Regions from separate parts of the Homo sapiens genome. Here region 2 is linked to region 1. Evidence: promoter capture Hi-C in 16 types of primary human blood cells and fetal thymus (Javierre and others, 2016). All regions are on one chromosome and are shown on one strand. The core of a region is centred on a gene start or on the middle of the fragment in contact, and the rest is flanking DNA. Distances in the headings are between cores, read along the strand shown. Region 1 holds the start of PTX4 (pentraxin 4). Region 2 overlaps MAPK8IP3 (mitogen-activated protein kinase 8 interacting protein 3).

Region 1 (4,353 bases), core at 833-3,332:
GTAGAGACGGGGTTTTGCCATGTTGCCCAGCCTGGTCTCGATCTCCTGGACTCAAGTGATCTGCCCACCTTGACCTCACAAAGTGCTGGGATTACAGGAGAGAGCCACCACACCCTGCCCCGACCCACAACTTTAAATGGAAATCAGGCAGGCTCAGTGGCTCACGCCAGTAAACCCAGCACTTTGGCTAGGCTGAGCTGGGAGGATTGCTTGAGCCCAGGAGTGTTTGAGAACAGCCTGGCAACATAGCAAGACCCTTCTCTACCGAAATAAAATAAATACATAAATAAATGGAACTCACTGTCAGTTGGAAGCTGCGAGATCCGCCGCTCTGTGTGTGGCACCAGCGTCGCTGTCCTGGTGGCTGCCAGTCCCCCGGGGCCTAAGGCCCCAACCCCGTCCATGTGCCCAGGATGTTCTCTCCGATGCTTTCTGCATCTTCTCCATGTCCATGGTGTTCTGACGCTTGACAAGGGGAGCCTGGGGGCCACCGATGGTTTCCTGGCCTGGCACCCTCTTGGCTCATGCCACCTTGGGAATGATGGATGCCCCCAGTGGGACAACTTTGTGGATGATCTTATTCCCATGAGCTGGGCGGCTTGAAACAACAGAAATGAGTCCTATCACAGTTCTGGGGGCTGGAAGTCTTGAAGTGAAGGTGCACACTCCCTCGAAGGCTCTGGGCTGGGGGTTCCCACTTTACCTCTTCCAGCTTCTGGGGCCTCTGGGGGTTCCTCGTGGCAGCGTCACCCCAGTCTCTGCCCCATCTTCACAGGCCGTGTCCTCTGTGCCTCCTCCTCTGTCTCTTGTACCCCTGTCATTGGCTTTAGGGCCACCTGGATAATCCAGGATGGTCTCATCTCAAAATCCTTCATGACATCCGCAGAGACCTTTTCCACATAAGGCCCTGCCTGGGGCTTATGTGTGTTTTTAGGAGGGTCTCATTCAAGCCAGTACACAACCTGTAACCAAAAATACCAGCCTGGCCCACATGGGGCAACCCCGTCTCTACTACAAATACAAAAATTGGCCGGGCGCGGTGGCTCATGCCTGTAATCCCAGCATTTCGGGAGGCTACAGCGGGTGGATCACCTGAGGTCGGGAGTTTGAGACCAGCCTGGCCCACATGGTGAAACCCCGTCTCTACTAAAAATACAAAAATTAGCCGGATGTGGGGGCACATACCTGTAATCCCAGCTACTTGGGAGGCTGAGACAGGAGAATCCGTTAAACCCAGGAGGCGGAGCTTGTGGTGAGCGGAGATCGCACCACTGCACTCCAGCCTGGGTGACAGAGCAAGACTCCGTCAAAAAAATTAATTAATTGGCCAGGCGCAGTGGCTCATGCCTGTAATCCGAACACTTAGGGAGGCTGAGGCAGGCAAATCATGAGGTCAGAAGTTTGAGACCAGCCTGACCAACATAGTGAAACCCCATCTCTACTAAAAATACTAAAATTAGCCGGGCATGGTAAAGCACGCCTGTAATCCCAGCTCCTCAGGAGGCAGGAGGCTGAGGAAGGAGAATCGCTTGAGCCGGGGAGGCAGAGGTTGCAGTGAGCTGAGATTGCGCCATTGCACTCTAGCCTAGGCAACAGAACGAGACTCCATCTCAAATAATAATAATAATTAATTAATTAAGGTGGCTCCCAGTCACATTTCCATTGCTTTACTGAGAGAGACGGGGCCTCCCAGGATGCAGCCGTGCACGGCCTGGGTGATGGGTGCCTGTGCAGACCTGGCTCTGTTGACTCCCCAGCCCCCGTCGGGTTCCCTGTCTTGCTTCGACTTCTCGGGAGCACAAGTCCATGTGCTCCTGTTAAAGCCATCGCCTCCTGCCCGCGGGCTTGCACCCAGCTGAATGATTCTTCAAAGAAACTGTTTGCATCTGTTTTAAGCTTGTCTCCTTAGGAACCTGCAAGTCTCAGAGCCCACTGGCTTGAAGGCAGATGCCTTTCATGGAGGCGGCAGGAAGAACCTGACATCCAGCCAGGGCCAAAGAAGGAAAACCACTCAACAGGAGAGCTGGGGGGACGAGACACAAGACAGACCCACGGAGCCACCTTCACCCTCTCCTGCGGCTGGAGGGAGACTGCTGGGGCCTTGCCGTCTCTCCGGATGGGTTGCTCGTGGAGGAAGACCTTGTCTTTCTTCCTTGTTTTTGTGCCTATATATCTACATGGGGCTTCATCGCAGGAAGCCGCCCCAGTGGGGCCCAGGAAACCGTTTTTCGAGAGGCTCCGTAGGCTGGAGGAACAGGCAAGTTATACCCCTGACATGGCGCAGTCGGGTTTTTAAATTGGCAGCAGATGGAAGACGGATGTTACAGAAGCAGATTGGTAAACATCAGGGCTTGGCGGACACGAACACCGCGTGTGACGCTCTTTCCATCCATGAAGATTATTTCACCTGCAGTTGGACACCAGGGAAGAGCTGAGCTGGGCTCCACTCACACAGGACACAAGCCTCATAACATGTGGGGGTCAGGTGGGGCCAGAGGCTAGAAGGGGGTCTGGAAGGGAGTCAGGGGAACTGGGGGCCATGGGGGCCGGGTAGTGTCATGGGGAGTGGAAACTGGGAGGTCACAGGTCCACCTTGTGGCAGTCGGTGTGAACGGCCTCCCGGACTCCCACGCGGGGTCCACGGACAGTTCCGGAGTGCTGTGGGCCTGTCGGGCCTGCGCTGGGTGCTTCCTGTTTGGGCCTCGTAAAGCACTCATGAGGCCACCCTGCCGTCCCCTGCTCACAGGCAGGAGCTGGAATCACGAGGGAAAGTGACTTGCCGGTGGTTATGGGGTGAGCGGTGGGGATCAGAGCCCCAGCTGTGGGCCTGGAGTCCACACCCCACGTGGTGCAGCTGCATGGCCTGGGGTCAGTCCCTGGCACCCACCACATCTCACGGCATCGCAGTGGGGATCAAATCGGTGGGCAGATAGCCAGTGCTGGCCGTGGCCCGGGCACGCGGCCGCTGCTCCCAACTTGAGAGGGCAAAGCCTTTCCCGTCCCGCCCAGCCGGCCCGGCCCGGCCCGCCCCATCATCACCGTGTCCTCCTTACAGTTCCGGAGATTCCAGGAGGTGACCTGGACACACCTGCAGAACATCGCCAGCAACTACAACGTGTCCTACAACGTTGACGTCCGGTTCCGGAGCCTGGCGGAAGAGAGCCAGGCTGTGGCTCAGGCAGTCAACCGGTCACAGGCCTCGGTGCAGGGGGAGCTGGCGCAGCTCAAGGCCTGGGTGAGGAAGCTGCAGCGCCGAGGCCGGAAAGTAGACACGCGGCTGCGGGCCTTGGACCTCACCCTGGGCGAGAGGAGCCAGCAGCGGGCCCGGGAAAGGAAGGCACACAAGGCCCAGAGGGACGCCCTGCAGGACTCACTGGCACGCCTGGAGGGCCTCGTCCACAGCCAGGGCGCCAGGCTGGCTGCTCTGGAGGGGCGGCTGCCCGTGGCCCACCCTGGCACTGCAGCCCTCGGGCCGGCCCTGGTCCCAACCCCAACCCAGCCTGAGGAGCTGGGCCCGACCTCCCTGAAGCTTCAGAGGGACAGGCAGGAGCTCCGAGCTGCCTCTGAGCACAGGGGCCCCCCACAGGACTCCTCGGCCCCTCTCCAAGGGAGGCGGGAGCCTCCAGCCTCAGGCAGCCATCGGGTACTCAGTGGGACTGCCCCAAAAGACCCTCGGCAGCAGGCATGGTCCCCCCAGGTGCCAGGAGAGAGTAAGTACCACAGGCTCCCAGCTCACGGCCAGGCTTCCCTCCAGCTCCTCCTTAGACCAGGCCCCCTGGAAAAGGCTTCTCAAAAGAGGTTCAGTTAGGGGCCGGGAGATGGGGAGAGGGTCTCGGATCATCGGGGGGGGTGGCCCACCGTCATCACAGAGGCTTTCTAAGGGGAGGCAGGAGGAACACAGTCAGAGGAGGGCGTGAGGGCAGAAGCAGAGGTGGCGGGATGCACAGACGAGGAGGCCCCACGCCGAAGGGTGCAGGCGCCTCTGGAAGCTGGAAAGGGCGGGAGATGGTTTCTCCTGGAGCCTCCAGAGGAACCAGCCCTGTCCACACCTGATTTGAGCCCTGGGAGACCGTGTTGGCCTTGTGACCGCCAGAAATGTGAAACACTAAACCTGCGCTGTTGTGAGTCATGAAATTTGCAGAGACTCCCTGGCAGTGAGGGGCGCTGGCTCAGCTGGGTGGGCCGACAGCTAGGGCTCCTAGCAGGACCCCGCCACTCCCGAGTACGGCCCTCATGTTCAGTCTTCCCGCCTGTGGAACTGGGGTGATCCCATCAAGAGAGTGAAGGAGACGCTGCAGGGGAGCCATCGGCAGGGCCAGCGCAGAGTCAGTGCTCCGTGAAGGGTGGCAGCCG
Region 2 (4,353 bases), core at 871-3,370, 260 kb before region 1:
GCTGTTGGGATCCACAGGTCGGGAGAGAGAGCAGAGTCAGTGGGCAGCCCGGAGTGGCTGCGTCTGCAGACTCTTCCAACACCTCCCACCGTGGCCATTCAATGCCCACACTGCCCTGCAGGCCGGTCGTGGATGGAGGCGGTAGGCCACAGCCTTGATGGTTCTCCCAGTGGTGGCAGAGGAAGACTTCACCAAAGACACCGACTTGGATAAATACTGAGCCCCCAGGACCCCAGGGCCTGGGCTGAGCCAGTACCTGCTTCCTGTGCGGTCCAGGCGGGTCTCTGGACACATGTCCAGCTCTGGCGTGGAGTCAATAATGTCTTGAACATCAGACCACTCGTCACTGCTGCCCATGCCTAGGGGAGAGCACAGGGGCACCTGGGGTCAGGAGAGGGTCTGGCAGCCTCTGCCCTGCTCACGGCTGCCCTCGGAACCTGAGTCTGGTGGGCTGGAGCTGGACCACCTGCTAGGTGGGGATGATCAGAAAACAGCTCTTCCCAGGCTGACTGGGCAGAGGTCGAACCCCAGCACAGTAGACGTCTGAGGCGGGGCCTGGAGCGGGGTGGGTTGCAGCAGCCTCTCTGCATGGGAGTGTCAGCAGTAAGCCCAGTCCCCAGAGATCCCACGTCCAAGCAAGCCAGTGGCTGGACCTCCTCTCGGCCCTCATTCCCCTCTTCTCTTTCCCTCACTGGCCTGTGTGCCGTGGGGCAACGCAGGTTACTGGTTAGTGGGGCTGTGTGCCATGGGGTGACGTAGGCTACTGGTTAGTGGGACTGTGTGCCGTGGGGCGATGCAGGTTACTGGTTAGTGGGGCTGTGTGCCGTGGGGCGATGCAGGTTACTGGTTAGTGGGGCTGTGTGCCGTGGGGCGATGCAGGTTACTGGTTAGTGGGGCTGTGTGCCGTGGGGTGACGCAGGCTACTGCCTTAGTTGTGTCTCCCCAAATCCATATGTTAATAGATACCCCCTAGCATGACTGTATTTGGAGGCTGGGCCTTTCAAGAGGTGATTATGGTAAAATGAGGTCACGTGGTGGCTCTAATCCAATGGGGCTATGTCCTTGTAGGAGCTGGAGATGAGGACACAGACACACCCAGGGGATGCCTGTTGAGGACACAGGGAGAAGGTGGTGTCTACAAGCCAAGGAGTGGCCGCAGGAGGAACCTACCCTGCCAGCGCCTTGATCTTGGACCCCAGCCTCCGGGCTGTGAGGAACACGTCTCTGCTGCCTGCACTGCCCGCCTGGTGCATTAGTTTCACATCTACCCAAACCAAGCCCTGCCTCCTGCCCGAGGGAGCCCAGAGTCCCGGAGGTGGGCACCCACCTATACTGACGTTGCGCATCTCCTGGGTGACCTGTACTTCCATGTTGCGGCTGTCGCGCTTCTCCCGGGCACGCTTGCTGTTCTTGGAGCCCACGCCATAGTCCCCCAGGGGCTGCAGGCTCTCGTTGAGGGGTGTGACGGCGGCCGAGGGCACGGAGGATGTGGGCGTGTTGGACTTGGTGCCTGTGGTGCTGGGTGTGGCGGCCGCCGAGGACTGGCCTGACTCGGACATTTCATCCTGTGGACACTAAGGCCAAACACAGGGAGGAGGGAGAGCGAGTCACTGCAGGTCCCTGGCCTGCGGCTCCGCCGTGGCTGCCTGAGGCCCCGCGCACCAATGCTTTGCACTTTGCCTCGCCCGACACCCTGCGGGCCAGAGCTCCTCTGCCGCCCACCGGGCTAACCCTTCCGGGCCTCACCACTCCCGAGTGGCTCTGCTTATCCGGCCACTGACTCCGGCTCCTCGGAAGCAGGGCCACCCTCCTGAAATGGCTTGGAACGGGGCTTTCCACTGGTGCCCTCCCCAGACGATTGCTTGTAATGGGCCAGTGCCTCGCCAGGGACACAGCGGCAGCCCCCTGTAGCTTGTGGCTGTTCAGAAACAAGTCCAGCCCAGGTAGGGCAGAGGGCTCTGACTGGGGACCCAAGAAGGGCTGGCTGTGCCGCCACCGCTGCCCCGTCACCATCACTGTGCTGAAGAGCTCGAGGCTGGGCCCACCCGCGCCTGCCCCACGTTCCTCCCCGGGCTCAGGTCAGGGCCAGGGAGTGACCAGAAGGTGCTGACCCTGTGGCTTGACTGGACCAGAGCTCACCCCTGAACATGAGCAAGCGCAAAGAAACCACAATCCCTGCTCACAGAAAGGGACGCCACCAAGACATTCTGGAGGGTGGGGGCAGCCCGGATTACGAGAAACCGCAACCAGCCGTCTACCTCAGGAAGCTCGCTAGGGAGGAGCGCATTCTATGTGACTAATGCGGAATGCGAAACAAACATTCTTTCCAATGGTCTTTCCTAACAAAGATACTGAACCAGCTGGAGAAAAAGAGCCCCAAACGTTCTCGTCTTAGCTGACCTGATCACCCGCTATGGCAGAGCTTGCCCGTGGCCCCCGGCCCTCCTTGAGGTGTGGGAAAGTGCAAGGCCTCAGAGGCACCCAGGTGGCTCCTGTGCCTGTCCCAGGCAGCCGCTGGGTGGGTTCCCGTGGTCTCTCAGAGGGCGCACCGTGGGGGACTCTAATGCTAAGGATCTCACCCAGGGAGGAGCTGTCGAGGGGGTATCCAGCCCTCTCCACAGCTGACTTATACTGGCCTTTAAGTGACCAGGGCAGACGGGACTTCCAGAAGTCATGGCCAGTGCTGACCTCTGCCTCTGCCCAGCCTCTCTGGTCACCGCCAGACTCAGGGCACGGGGCCTCTCAGTACCGGACACGGCCACTCACTCAGAGGACACATTTCTGCTTCATCTACCAGGCTCCTAAGTTTCTCTAGAAGGAATCTCAAAATGACACACCTTCCTCTATAGTAGCTATTCTCAGTTGGGCTGACTGCCCCGAGGGGATGCTTGCAAAGTCCAGAGACATTTTTGTGGTCACAAATGAAGGGGGTGCTCCTGGCTTTCGTGGGTGGAAGCCAGGGATGCTGCTCCACACCCACCGCGTCCCAGCGGCCCAGGCCATGCATGTCCAGCCCCAAAAGATGAGCAGTGCCGAGGGAGAGCCCTCACACGGGCGCAGCCCGCCTCCCGGAGTGGCTTTGTAGAAATGTCTGAGACGGCCTGTGGCTCTGCAGCTATGCCCAGTTTGAAAGGAAAACCCTTGCTCTTCATGTCACTCCCCACGCTGGAGGAAGCGAGTACCGCTCATGCAAGAAGTCTGTGCTGACGTTCTCAAAGAACCTGTCTACCCAATGTGTCACAGGCACCTGGTGTCTCACCGACTCTGCCACCACCCGGCAGAGAGAAAACAGGGAACCCCATGTGGCCAGGCAGGGTGTAGCTGTGCACATCAGACAAACGCTTCTGGGCCACCTTCCTCCACGCTGGGTCCCCGGCCTGCTCCTGACCCTCATGGTGGCTGCGGGGAATTCTGCAGTCTGATTGCGCCTCCCCTAGCTCTCCGTCACCCTACAGGGCCACCACTTACCCATGGGACACTCCCCCTGGCCACAACTTACCTAAAGGCAAACCTCTCAACCTCCTAAACATCAACGTGTAGCAGTGACCTCCAAATGCACTGAAAGAACCCAAACTCTTAGCGGTCATTCCTCACCATGAGTAGCCACAACTGTTTGGTTAAAACACTGAAAATACAGTACATAAAAACAAAAACAAAACAAAACAAAAAACAACAAAAAAATTAAGAAATTAGAAAAACTTCAAAACCTAGAGCATAAAATAAAAAGAACTTAAATGTAATAATTTAAAATAAAGAAAAATCAAATAAAACACTCCTATGAACGAAAACATAAAACGCTACAATTTATGAAGAGAGCGACGATGTCAGACAACGCAGGAGGTGAAAGGAAAGACATCATGAGAAGAAGAGCGGGCCCAGAGCGGGCGCGAGAGGCAGCCCGGAGGCCAGAGAGCGTCAAGCAAGGGCTCCCCCCGGCTGAGGCTGACGTGTCTTCAGATGCCTATGGGCAGGTCCCAGCTCCAGGCCCGGGAAGCGTGAGCCAGAGACAGTGAGAGGAGGTGGGCCCAGGTGGCAGGGCTGGGCCCAGAAGGCCCGGGGAGCCCGCAGCCCCGCCACCCTCTCTCCAGCCCTGAGCACAGGGAGGACAGGAGAGCGTTCCAGATGCCATGAGGGAGCTCGCTCCCAGAGCAGCGCAGCAGCAGGTGGGCTGACGGAGCAGGAGCCTGCAGCAGCCCCCACAGGCACGATGGACACTTAGAGGTGGAAGGACAGTCGGCAAAGCATGCAGCAGGAAGTAAGCTTCTGGAGAAGTCCCAGGCCCCACATCCACCAGCCCAACCCAGCCCACAGGCCCCAAGGGCTCTGCCTCTGTGGACATCCTCTGACGGCCCC

The links. Contacts are between HindIII fragments. The CHiCAGO score rates a contact against its expected background, and 5 or more counts as called.
Region 2: a fragment that was not itself captured here is called in contact with the fragment with the promoter of PTX4 in region 1 in 1 of 17 cell types (endothelial precursors); the score reaches 5.0 in endothelial precursors.

What each region holds. Positions count from the first base shown.
Region 1 is chr16:1,486,673-1,491,025 of GRCh38, reverse strand. PTX4 (pentraxin 4) reads left to right here and starts at 2,082. Exons shown (of 3, transcript NM_001328608.2): 1 at 2,082-2,257; 2 at 3,056-3,710. The coding sequence starts at 2,117. The HindIII fragment of the contact is 1,633 bases long and covers 1,899-3,531 here.
Region 2 is chr16:1,744,250-1,748,602 of GRCh38, reverse strand. MAPK8IP3 (mitogen-activated protein kinase 8 interacting protein 3) reads right to left here. Exons shown (of 32, transcript NM_001318852.2): 6 at 1,328-1,574; 7 at 257-359; 8 at 1. Among named protein-coding and RNA genes, the nearest start is that of MIR3177, 11 kb to the right of the region's middle. The HindIII fragment of the contact is 4,285 bases long and covers 1-4,262 here.